3 separate regions of the Homo sapiens genome follow, and all the other regions are linked to region 2. The links are contacts of gene promoters, found by promoter capture Hi-C in blood cells and fetal thymus (Javierre and others, 2016). All regions are on one chromosome and are shown on one strand. The core of a region is centred on a gene start or on the middle of the fragment in contact, and the rest is flanking DNA. Distances in the headings are between cores, read along the strand shown.

Region 1 (4,390 bases), core at 461-2,960, 3.0 Mb after region 2:
AATCTGGGGCCCATTTCCACTAAAAGCTGTTTATCACTTGTTTGTGGTATGTTCCTATTTATAGATTTTATTTCAATTATAGGAGACTAAATGTGTGTACTGTTAATTGATGATGATGGTATAATTACAACTTAACAGTTTCCGGATTAGCTGGCCATGCTGTAAGTCATAGTGGTCAGAACACTGAGGATATGTCATTTAACTCAAAAGTTGATTTTTTTTACTACTGTATATATTATATAAAAGCTCAAGGGGAAACAAGTCAATTAATCATAAATGATCATGCATAGAAAATATGATGCTTTTTTAAAATGCTTTTTTCTTTAGCCTGTTAGTCTGAAAATAGCATAGGCCTTCAGATGGTGATATATCCAGAGAATGATTCTGTTGACAGTGACTGTGCTTAGTGTTGAACTTTGTCATCCAGGAAGGAAATCAAAGAACCAAAAAGTCTTCCTTCCAAATGTTAGTGCACCTCAGGTTCTTCATGAGATTTCCTGTTATGCTCCTTTTCCTTTCTTATGTTCTTAAAATGCACTTGGTTTTTTTTTTTTCCTGTTTCCTTTGTCTATATTTTAAATTGCTTTTTTAATTTGAACATGTCATTATTTTAAGCACTTACTATAAGTCCAATTTGTAAATGAAATCTTGCCTACAATAAGTATATCAAGTGAAGGGTATGCAGTTCACAGGTTTATTTTTACATGTTGACATTTATAAGTACATGTGGTAACTTAAATCTTTTCATTACTTAATGTGAAATTAGAACTTATTGAGGACTTTATCTTATCACTGAAGAAGTTGGTTTCAAGTTAGTTAAAAATAAATTTTGTCTGATATAGGAGGAAATCAATTTCAAAAGAATGCCTATTTTTAAATAAATGACATATAACTTACTTTTGGATGAAAGGGAAAATATAAAATCACACTAATATTTGTAGCATCATGAAATATGCTCAGCAAAATCTTTTGATTGCTGAAGTTTCCTATACTCTAGTTGAAACTTGTTTGTGTTTTCTTTAAGAAAAACAAACACAAAACATTTCTAGAAAACATGCTCTTAAAGATTATTTTCTTTGAAAATATTTTATATTTTTCTAAGCTTGTGCATTATTTTCTTTTGTACTATATTTTTAGTAATTTGATTAAAGTATTAGAACATTCAGTATAAAAGAAAAGTGAAGTTGATTATTTCCTTTTTATGAAATCTAATTATTTTTTCTTATGAAATCCAGGCGATGTAGTTACAGGAAGCGATGCTCAGGTTTCTGTTCCTGTCCAGACTCTAACTGACCTCCAAGGTACAGTTACCATAACAACATAGTGTTTCTTTTTCTTTGCCTACAGTATTATCATTGCCTACTCCAAAACTCCATTTTTCTTTTTGCCCACCCTCCATTCATACTGTTTTCAATTCACTACCATTGTTCAGCCACTGAGTGGCACTATTGTTAAGAACAAAAGTCCCCTCTCATGTCATACCTTGGTGATGCCGAATATGGCTGTGATGTGGGTTTTCTATTAGGTGTGCACAAGCCTCTTTGCAAAATATGATTCACCCTGTATTTTGTGGTTATTATAACATAGTATACTTTGTGTGCCAGCTCACACTGAGGTGTTCTTTTTGTTACACTGGTGCTCTGTGACAGTATTTGACCAATTAGTTCTGAAAATAGACATCTTATGTGCTACGATTAGCCAGAAATACTTACATTTTGCCTGAAATAATTACAACCTGATTTTGAAATGTTTTTAAGTATTGCCTTTGAATTACGCATTATGTTAACACAATTAAAGTACAGTGTAGCAAATCTTCATTTATGGTAACTGGCAATGGTTTTAAAAAAAGAATGTTTAAATATCATATCCATTTGTTCAAAATATAGAAAATATAGTTTTTAAATAAATACAAAAAGTGATCATCTACCTCCTATGCAATTTTAAAACATATAAATACTTAAAGTGGCTGCATTAATCTTTTATTATGCAGTCTTTTAGATGAAATATGCGATAGAGAGGATTTCTGTGTTAAATGGAAGCCTAGAGTAACTTTAAGAATCTTCTATTCAAATTCAGACTAAAATGATAGCAGTATTAATTAAAATCCATACCATGTTTTTCTTAATTTAAAATACCACATAATATAGTGATGCTAGTAGTATTAAAATACTGTTTTAATAATGATATGTCCTCATATTATCCATTTTTTTAGGGGGGGTGGAACAGAAAAGAATGGGTTGTGATTAAGAGATTGATGTATTGGGTTAACTTAAAAAACAAAAACCCACCACATTGTGGCAATAGAGGAGTAAGCTTTCACTTCTATATATAGTTCTGTGTCTCACAGGTATAGTTTCTGGAGGTATTCTGGTAATTGAACCAGATGAACTTCAAGGGCTTTTCTAGCTCAGGGATTCCATGAAGAGCTGTTCACTCTTGCTGTCTGTTAAATGATCTACATAATAGAAGGGTATAATAGCATGGACAAGAGGAAAGGCAGATAATGTCTACATGATTTCTCTTTAGCTTTGCACTGAGATGAATGTTAATGTGATCATCTGATATGGAGAGAATTTACAAGACTTAAATTTGTTTTCTAAAATTAAATTCTGAGCCCCACAGACAACTTTTTAACATGTGTGTTGTTGTCCCAACATTAATTGCTACAGAGTAGATCTTTGGCTTCTCTGCAAGACATAGGATATGGAGCCCAATTTATACCTATGGAAAGAAAAGCTAAGAGTTGGCTTGCTTATTCTGACTTCTGCTTCTATGCTATTAATAAATCCAGTTTTTTTCCTACAAACCAGAGCCACAGGAGTAACGTAACTGTTTAACTAGAACTTCAAAGAGGGAGGTTATATTGTTTTGTTCAAATACCTCGTGTTATATAAGTAGAATTATCTCATTTGTTTATTCAACAAGTATTTATTGAGTGCCTGCTGCTGTGTCAAGCTCTGTTTTCACTGGTCCCTTGGCTTTCCTTACAGCTTTACCTGGTTGGTTGGGCATTACCTTTGCTTTAGGTGACCCAGTTAAGCCTACATAGTCGGGAACCAGCTCTTTTACTAGATACCCTATTCAGAATCACCTCTGCCTCCCATACCCTAGCAGAGATTGTATCAGTCTGATAAGGAAAGTTCCAGCTACTTTAATAGATGTGAATCACAAATAAACAGCTTTTAGTCTGTGGTGATGATTTTGACAATGATAGACAATGAGAGTACACCTACCTGATTTGGGGAAGTCACTTTTTGTCTTCCTCAACATATTCCCTGAAGAGTACCAAGAAGCAAGGGGAAGTAGAAGTAAACCAAAATAGTGGTAGCAGAAAAAAAAATTCTATCTATGCTTAATATAATCAGTGTCAAGGAATTAAACTACTTAGATTTTCCCAAGTGTCTTTTTTCAAAGCAATGAAGTAAATTTCAAGAAATAAAGTAAGTATCAATACTTTTGATGATTCCTTGATTATAGATAGTCTTTTTTTAATGAAATTTTATGTCTGTATCTTTGACTTTTAACACAGCAGTTATATGGGCTTTTATTTTTAAGAAAAAACCTGAATATAAGGTGAGATTCCATAATTTAGATCAATAAGTAATTTTTAGAGAATTATTCAAAAATTTCATTTTATATCTTGCAGTGTAGGTTGCAATCACACACCAAAAAAAAGCCACAGCAGACTTTGTTTATCAAAGACTTAACTCAGTGAGGTTCTTCAAAATTAGTTTTAGAAATTGCATACTTACCCCCGGAAACCTTTGTCAAGAGATATTTATGAATTTATTCACAAATCAAAAAGCTTTAAACACAGGTACACACACAAGACATATGTTATTTTTAAAGAGAATCTGGAATTTGTAACAACAGAAGTACAGTCAGCCCCCTGTATCCATGGGTTTCACATCTCTGGATTCAGCCAACTACAGGTCAAAAATATTCAGAAAAAAAATGAGTCTCTACTGAACATGTACAGACATTTTTCTTATAACTCCCTAGACAATATGGTATAACCACCATTTACGTAGCATTTACATTGTATTAGGTATTATAAATAATTCAGAGATGACTTAAAGTATAAAGGAGGATATGCGTAGGTTATTTAAAAATAGTACTACCATTTTATATAAGAGACTATAGCATCCTTGGATTTTGGTATCCACAGCGGTCCTGAAACCAATCTCCCATGGATACTGAGAGATGACTAGATTTAGGTATTAACATAAAATGGACCATTAGGAAAGAATTTTAGATTTTTTAAAATAATTTCCATAGGCATCTTTAAAATTTATACTTGTATATATACATTTGTGTTATGGATGTAAATATGCATATACATACGCACAGATATCTATAACATCAGATTATTTTAAATATAAAAAGGTTA
Region 2 (4,437 bases), core at 1,893-4,392:
TGTGAGTGCTCATTATATTTTAAATACATCATAAAGTTAAAACCAATGAAAGTAGAAATAACATGCATTCACATTTTGAAAAACCTTGAAAGTAATGCAGCTACAAATATTCACTATCATTTGAGAGCAAGCTTTTTAAGAAGTTAAAATGATTTGAATTATACCATAACTATTCTAAACATCTATTAAATTAAACAAAGAATTTTCACTAATTGGTTACCCTTTCATAGGTTCTTCTCAGTTTGTCAGCTAGATGATGTGTTCCTACACTGTACTTTGCGATATAATTAAACCATGGATTATCTCTGAATTAGGCTGGGTACAACTGTGATATAACAAAAGGGAGAAGTCGCAGAACATAGTCCAGCTGTTAATAGCATGGACTTTGGAGCCAGGCTTCCTGGGTTCAAACTCCAGTCCACCATTTAGTACTCTTTGAAATATGCATATTTTTGTTCAAAAAGGAATATGTGCATTCTTCCTGGGAAGAGTTGTAGTTTCCACAAAATTTTAAAAGAGCTATTGATTCCAACAGTAATTCAGTTCCCTAAAATCAGCGGCAGTAGAACATTTTGATGTACAAAAGTTACTCATGCTAGGACTCTGGTGGTATTTTCCCTCACTGCCCCTAAATTCAGCCATTTCTATTCTTTAGGGCTCTATAATAAACACCTGATTTGAAGTCTGACCCATTTTTAAATTGGGAACGGGGAAGACACCCCTCAAAAAGTCAGAACCTCAAAGCCTTTGGTCAGGGCCAGCTATATAATCTGTGTGGGTCAATGTGAAATGAAAATATGATGCTCCTTGTTCAAAATCCAAGACAAAAACCTTCAGCTTACCGATAAGTAGAGAAAGACTGAAAAGAAAAGGAATTGTGGAATGTCTTATCTTTCCTTTTCCTTTCATGCCATCACTTTTAGTGTAAGTGGTTAGAAAATATAGTAACGTGGTTGGGCATGATGGCTTAGCCTGTAATCCCAGTTTGGAAGGCTGAGGCAGACAGATCACTTGAGCTCAGGAGTTTGAGACCAGCCTAGGCAACATGGCAAAACTCTGTCTCTACAAAAAAATACAAAAATTAGGGGGCGTAGTGGTGGGTCCCTGTAATCCCAGCTACCTGGGAGGCTGAGGCAGGAGAACTGCTTGAACCTGGGAGGCAGAGGTTGCAGTGAGCTAAGATGATGTCACTGCACTCCAACCTGGGAGACACAGCAAAACTCCGTCTCAAAGAAAATAATAATAATTTCAAGAGGGCAAGGGTGAGCCCTTCTGAGCACTTTGTACTTAGGTCCCTAACTACAAAATAAGTGGTTCATGGAGGCCATTTAGTGCGCATCCTGAACATTGTATGACATGGGGCAAGAAACAGTGACAGACACACACATTGCATGAATCACATCTGCTCACAAGATTGCTCCATTGTCTCATCAGACATCACTTACAAAACATAAGTTCAAATATAAACTCCTAAGCATTTCAAGACGGCAACAGCAGAGCATTAAACCAAATGTACAGCCCTTCTAAGCACCGGTTGCCTGCTCATGAAGCTGGCCCTATTCTCTGCTCTCATGTTCCACTTCATAATTTTCTGACCTCAAACAACAAAAAACCTCTCTGCCCATTCCTTCTTGATGCTTCTACACATATAAGCCACATTGCCCAGTGGCAGTAAACTGAGGGTTAATGGAGTTGGTCTGGTTAACTTGGAAAACGAGGGAGTTGTTGGCTGGAGAAGGGTGTTTCAGCCTCTTCCACTCAAGCCAGGATGGGTACCCAGACTAGAGCAAGCATGTGTTAGCTACCTTTAAAAAACAACAACACACCTTCATAAAGAATGCCTAGATTCAAAACATTTGTTTCGTTTTCATTTATTTGTTCCTTTATTGTCCCAGTGAATATTTACTACTTACTTCAAATTGCAACGAGATGCTGACAATTTAGCTATGAACAAAGCAGATGTAGTTCCTGCCCTTATTCAACTTCAAGAAACAGGCAATGAACGACAAGTCAGTGTCACAAGGAATACCAAGGGGAAAATGCAGGGCACTAAGAAAGTGTAAAGCAGACACTCAGGGGCTTTAGGGGTAGATAAGTCTTTCTGGAAGAATTCATCTGTACAGTGAAACTTCAGTATACATAGGAGTAAGTTCGGCCAAGGGAAAGAGTGTTCTTGACAGAACAGCATTGGCAAAAGTGGCAAGAATTTTAAGAAAATTAAAGAAAATGTACAAGTGATGGAACCAGGAATCATGGGGCTCTTTAAGGACAAAATATCTTAAAGGAGTTTGAAATTCACCTTAAATGCAATAGGGAGCCATTGTAAAGTTTCCTATTTGATACTTGTTTTGTAAAAATATTAATCTATGAAGAATATAGGGAGTGGAGTCTGCGGTCAGAGTGGGTACTAGTGCAATTTAGGGAATGAGATTAGGCTGGAAGCTGGATTGGGGGGAAAAAGATGGGCATGAGAGAAACTTGGAAAGCAGAGTTGAGAAGATCGTGTGACCGACTGGACGGGCAAAGGTTAAGAGAGGATAAATAATCATTAAGGACGATTTCTCAGGCTTCTAGTCGGTAACTGGATGGATGTTGGTGCCATTTCTCGAGAAGAGTTAAAGAGCCAGAGATAGCCGGCAAAGAGAAACATGGAGCTAGAATTTTCAGGTATCTGCAGTTTCCCTAATACCTTTTTAATCCAGAATTTGCTCCTTGTTTTGGTTTTAATTCCTCTAAAAGCTGCTTCCGTGTTGCAAGCTGGCTGACCGCTTTAACAGGCAACCAAAGAGATTCTTCTCACAAGAGGGAGGCTTTGAGCACAACCCGGGACATTTGAAGCTGTCAGACTGAAGAAACAGGAAGCTTTGAACTACCTATCACACTCGGCCTTAAAGGTTTCGGAGTAACTCCACCCGTAAAATCCCCACGACTCTGATTAGAAAGTCCCGGCGGGTCGCCGAGACCCGACCGCAGGCTCCGCCCCAGGGCCAGGTGGATGCCCGGATGTGGACTTGAGCGAATGTGCGTCACGTGACGTCGCCTGGCGGGGCGGGACTCTGCCTGCGACGGTGGTGTTGGGTGCATCCTGCGCCACGTGACCGCCTCCCAGCCAACCAATGGAGGAGCGAGGCGGAAAATTTCGAATGTGGCGGCGGTAGTTCCAGGCGACGGCGGACGGTGGTACGGTCCTGGAGGGCCCAGTGCGCGGGGCTAGCCGTGGCTGGAGAGCTTCGAAGAGCCTTGAAATGTGAGGAGGAGGAAGATAGCTGTTGCAGAAGTAGTGGCCAAGGTATCGTTCTGGACGCGCCTGCGGCAGGAGGGTCGCCGCGTCCACTTCCGCCAGCCCCACCTCCCCCCGGCCTTCCTGGAGTCCCTGAAAGAGGAAGAAGTAGGTTTTAAGGTGCGAAACAAGGGCGTAGTGATCCCTGTTTGACTTCCCTTCGGTTTTCAGTATCATTCTAAATTCGGTGGCCGAAAGCTCGGGCCGTGGAGTCCCACTCGCCGCGCTTTTCGCCGTTCAGCCACTCGATCTGCGCTTTCAGATGTTCCGGCTTCCATGGAGACCCTAATTTCCTACTTTGCAAAATTGTGTAGATTAAGTGATGTGCAAATAAAGCTTTTACAATAGCTAAAAGCCTGGCTCAACGTAAGGACACAAGAAAATTGACAGCAGTTCTTTGTGCAGCGTGATACCGTTGACGTCCTCCTTGTCCAGGCCATTCTCTTCCTCACTTACCCTGGAGAGGCCGGCACTGACTAGTATCCTACCTGGCTGTCTTCGCAGCAGGACTAATTGGAGAATTATGGACGGAGATCAAATATGCTAGGTTCTTTAAATCCAGAGCGCTTACACGAGTACTGTACAGATTGAGACCGTCATCTCGCGCTGTGGTCTGTCTTTGCTTTCATCCCTTCTGTCTACCACACCCCCTGCTAATAACCATCGCCTTATTTAGACAGGATATAAAACTTTTGATATGGCAAGTTTCTTTTGTGATTTTTAACTTGATTAAAAGTAATAACGAAAGCTTTTTAGGTAAGGCTTTGCCTTTAAAATACCTTAACTAAACTAGATCCGTTACTTAATCTGTATGACTCTCAAACATCTCCAATTCTAACTTAATTGTGTAAAACAACCCCTTTACCGTTCGTGCTTTTAAAAATAGCTACCCTATCTCTGCTAGGAACCTCCCAGTACATATTGTATATACCTTGGTAGAAAGAAAGTTCTTAAGTGGTATCTACAATACCTATATTTAAGATTCCAGACACTGCATAGAGGAAAATAAGGCCTGGAGGAAATACTCAAGATTAAGTGTAAGGTTTAGGAAAATATTTGACTATCGTAGAGGAGATGAAGATATCCTTTGTAGTGAAAATTCTGTGCATAGATTGTTATTGGAAACAAGTCTTTTTTTTTTGCAATTTTAAGATCTG
Region 3 (4,379 bases), core at 1,686-4,185, 2.4 Mb after region 2:
CAGCCTCCCAAAGTGCTGGGATTACAGACGTGATCCACCAGGATCACACCAGGCCGCGCCTGGCCTGCTTTCATTTTAAAAGTCAAATTTGTCATCCGCCTCAGTGCTTGTAATCTTTTCTGAGTGAGATACTGAAATTTGCAGTTTCGTTTTGCTTGCACTTGTTCACTGGACCAGTAGTCACTGTTAAATGTAAAAGTATCTACTTCCTCTGAAAGTTTTTTATTCCTTTATTTCCTGCCTGGGCTTGTCCTCCACCCTACATGTATGCGTAGTAGATTTAGTGTTTGTTATCCTAACCTTTAGGTTTAGGGATTGACTGGGTTTCTGACTTTTTATTTGGCCAATGAGGACGATACAGAAAATGAAGCATTGGTCATTATCACATTTTAACGCTGAAAAAGTAAGAAGGACAACCCCGGAATAAAAGTAAGTTGAATAATTTATGTTTCATTTAAAAATGAATATATAATCCCTTCTCTTAACCCCCTTTTTGTCTCAGACCACTGAAAGCTTTGTCCTGTTAGCAGCAGCAGTCTGAGAAGTGGTGCTAGTCCACCTGATCCTGAGACATTTCTCTCAACATGGGTAGATCATTGGAATGGCAGTGTGTACAGTGTGTGTACCAGAACTTGAGAAATGTGAGGTCGGGGTGGTGGGATGGTCAGCAGTGGAAGAGCTGGGAGAGGGGAGGGAGATCATTTGACGGAGAGGGCCTGTGGGCTGCTTCTAGTAGCATCAATTATTACTAGAATAATGGTGAATTTGGGAAGGATGTCAGTGTAACAACAAATCTCAGTGTAAATGCTTTCTCAAAAACCTGTGAAGTGTTTAGGAAAATGTTTATCATTCTACAAATGTTAGGTAAACATTTAAAAATAATTCCTGTGCAATGATTTAGTAACATTAAACATTATATAAATTGAGGGATAAAAAGAGGCTCAGAGATTATCATCAGAGGTTAAGATTGTCCCAAATTCTCTCTTGTTCTTTTGGAATATTAGGATAGAGTTGAAACCCTTGCTGCATGCCCACTTGTTGGCTTTTTTATTTCTTACCCTGATGCTGTGTTGTGGGCTGCATGGACATACCAGCTCTGCCATGCTTTCTGGGCCTCACAGCTGAATGGCCAAGTCATTACTTACGGTTATCCCAGGGAAGCATTTGTTGCACATCCGAATGATGGAAGCCTTCTAATTGGTATTTTCAGCTATTAATAATAATTTTAATATTTTTACAAATTCTGTATGATTATGATATGTGTTATAATGCCATGCTGGTCAGCTACTTAGTCTCACAGTGCCTCACTTTTCTCATCTTTAAAATGGGGAAAATAATAGTAACTTTGAGAATTAGAGAGAGAGAGAGAGTGTGTGTGTGTGTGTGTGTATGTGTGAGTGTGTGTTTAAAGCCCTTAATGCTATCACGTAAGTGATAGATATTCTGTGGATAATCTACAGTGTGGTAGATCATATCTATATAATCAAGACTGACTATATTTTTGGAGATTGTACAGTTTATTTGGGATAAGGCTCTATGGGCCAAGAAAGCAGAGTTTGTACTTTTTGGATGAAAATACAAAATTGGTATAGTAATGCTCTTATCCCTTTGGAGAATTAAATGCAAATAAATATAGTTTGACAGCTCAGATCTTTCAAAACAAGAAAGTAGGGCTGTAGAAAAAAACATGTCTTTGGTGATGGTGTGAAAGGATTGGTTAAAATCTTTCAAGGGTAGTGTTGCGAAGCCTAGTACAGGATCACCTTTTTTTCTGAATGTCCATTAGTTTGGATGAAAAACATCTAAAGATAATGTCATTCAGTCATTGTCCAGTGTTGCATGTGGTTTCTGTGGCTAACTCCAGGAAAATATTCAGTAATTGCAGATTTACTCTTTTTCTTAATTCAGTTGCCTAGAAAAGATGTTAACTGGGTTTTTTTTTTTTTGAAACAAAATAGTCTTAAAAGTTTTGAAATAGGCATTACAGATGATTACATGTTATCATAGTTTTTTTGTTAAGACAAGAGTGTTTACCTTTACTTTTTTGCTAGTGATGAAGGCTACATGAAGAAGAGTGATTGACTTTTTAAAATGGAATGATGTAATTTTATGATACTTTATGGAAGAGTAGTGTGTATGTATGTCTAAAGAAAATTCTGCTATGAGTGCATGTATTAGATCCAGTAATCACAGTATGTTAGGTTAGCCTGCCATTAGAAAAAAGAGCCACCTCCCCCCATTATAGAAAGTAATGCCTATTGTTGAAATTTTATAAAAACAAATGATGAAAAATAATTATCTGCACTGTTGAGAATTTCTTAAGGTTCTCTTCAGGGCTGTCTTGCCTTGAGAGATACTGCAAAATGAATGTCAGTTTTGTACCACAAGTATTAGTTTAGAAAGCTGAGTAACACATGTTGGTTAAGCAGGAGTGTTTTATCTTCTAGGGTTACTAAACTTTTTGTCCCTAAGTAAGATAAAAAGGTTGAACCAAAAGTACTTAGATTCCCACTTCTAATTGTGAGTCTTCAGAATAACTAGACCAGTGAGAAGTAAGCCCCCACTTCTGACATAAGCACCATGGGGAAGATACATCAGAGAAAAACGGCTCCCACCTGATGGAGTTGGAATAAGCACATATCTTAGGAACCGGCTGCAGAGGTATGCATTCTGTTTGCTGATAAGTGGGGATCAGAATGAACCCCTTTAGAGTTTCCCACAACAGGTGGGAAGTGTTTTTTTTGTCTTTTTTTTAAATTGAGACAGAGTCTCACTCTGTCACCCAGGCTGGAGTGCAGTGGCGCGATCTCTACTCACTGCAACCTCTGCCTCCTGGGTTCAAGTGATTCTCCTGCCTCAGCCTCCTGAGTGGCTGGGACTATAGGTACATGCCACCAAGCCCAGCTAATTTTTTTGTATTTTTAGTAGAGACGGGGTTTCACCATGTTGTTCAGGCTGGTCTCAAACTCCTGACTCAGGTGATCCACCCGCCCCAGCTTCCTGGAGTGCTGGAATTACAGGCATGAGCCATTGCACCAGGCCTCCAGGAAGTGTTTTGACTTTATATTGAGACTTTGGAGGTGTCCCAGCAGCTACCTGGCAGAAGTTCTAGAGGAGTTCCTAACGTTACATCTCTTGCCATCCTGGGATGGGATAGTGGATTGATTGCCTTGGATCCCTGGTGGAGCTTTGGGGAACAAGGTTGGAGACGTGGAGTTGATAGGAGATGGAAAGGTAGTGCCACTATTTCCATGTTTGTCTACTGCATATTCATTAAACTAGACCCCTTTTACTTCCATGAGGAACAAGAGTCTAAAGGTAAGAGTGCTCATTTTTATAAATAGATGGGGTGACTTAGGAAGACTTGGGTCAAATTGCCTCCTCACCCACCTTCATTTCTCTAAGATTGGGGTTAATTTAAGTCTCTTTATCCTGTGGCATGTGTGTGTGCAAGTTTGTGTGTACCTATAGATCTACCTTTTTAATTTTAATTTTATTAAATTTTATTTTTTAGAGACAAGGTCTCACTCTGTTACTCAGGCTGGAGTGCAGTGGTATGATTATGAGAGGCAGGACTAGCTGGATTTCCTAGGCCGACTAAGAATTCTTAAGCCTAGCTGGGGAAGGTGACTGCATCTGCCTTTAAACACAGGGCTTGTAACTCAGCTCATACCCAACCAATCAGGTAGTAAAGAGGGCTCACTAAAATACAAATTATTCTAAAGCAGGAGGTAAAGAAATAGTCAAATCGTATATTGCCTGAGAGCACAGTGGGAGGGACAATGATTGGGATATAAACCCAGGCATTAGAGCAGGGAGCGGCAACCCCCTTTGGGTCCCCTCCCTTGTATGGGAGCCCTGTTTTCACTCTATTAAATCTTGCCACTGCACACTCTTCTGGTCCGTGTTTGTTACTTCTCGAGCTGAGCTTTCGCTCGCCATCCACCACTGCTGTTTGCTGTCGTCGCACACCTGCTGCTGACTTCCACCCCTCCAGATCCAGCAGGGTGTCCGCTGTGCTCCTGATCCAGCGAGGTGCCCATTGCTGCTCCTGATCGGGCTAAAGACTCGCCATTGTTCTTGCATGGCTAAATGCCTGGGTTCGTCCTAATTGAGCTGAACACTAGTCTCTGGGTTCCATGGTTCTCTTCTGTGACCCATGGCTTCTAATAGAGCTATAACACTCACCGTAAGGCCCAAGGTTCCATTCCTTGGAATCTGTGAGGCCAAGAACCCCAGGTCAGAGAACAAAAGGCTTGCTGCCATCTTGGGAGTGGCCGCCACCATCTTGGGGGAGTTCTAAGAACAAAGACCCACTCATAACAATTATACCTCATTCCAGCCTCATATACCTTTTTAAAAAAACTGAAATGGATTCA

The links. The method cuts DNA at HindIII sites, captures the fragments that hold promoters and counts their contacts. A CHiCAGO score of 5 or more calls a contact.
Region 1: a contact is called between a fragment that was not itself captured here and the fragment with the promoter of SGO1 in region 2, in 1 of 17 cell types (fetal thymus). The highest score is 5.1, in fetal thymus.
Region 3: a fragment that was not itself captured here is called in contact with the fragment with the promoter of SGO1 in region 2 in 1 of 17 cell types (non-activated CD4 T cells); the score reaches 7.4 in non-activated CD4 T cells.

Annotation. Positions count from the first base shown.
Region 1 is chr3:17,230,596-17,234,985 of GRCh38, reverse strand. It overlaps TBC1D5 (TBC1 domain family member 5), which reads left to right. Exons shown (of 23, transcript NM_001349074.2): 18 at 1,236-1,301. Among named protein-coding and RNA genes, the nearest start is that of PLCL2-AS1, 180 kb to the right of the region's middle. RefSeq lists enhancers at 1,242-1,311, 2,311-2,380, 2,755-3,049. The HindIII fragment of the contact is 1,211 bases long and covers 1,105-2,315 here.
Region 2 is chr3:20,184,911-20,189,347 of GRCh38, reverse strand. SGO1 (shugoshin 1) reads left to right here and starts at 3,142. Exons shown (of 8, transcript NM_001199251.3): 1 at 3,142-3,400. SGO1-AS1 (SGO1 antisense RNA 1) reads right to left here. Exons shown (of 4, transcript NR_132785.1): 4 at 3,233-3,373. RefSeq lists enhancers at 2,665-2,724, 2,745-3,424. The HindIII fragment of the contact is 754 bases long and covers 2,865-3,618 here.
Region 3 is chr3:17,735,393-17,739,771 of GRCh38, reverse strand. The region is part of intron 1 of TBC1D5 (TBC1 domain family member 5); the gene reads left to right. Among named protein-coding and RNA genes, the nearest start is that of TBC1D5, 5.0 kb to the left of the region's middle. The HindIII fragment of the contact is 4,840 bases long and covers 516-4,379 here.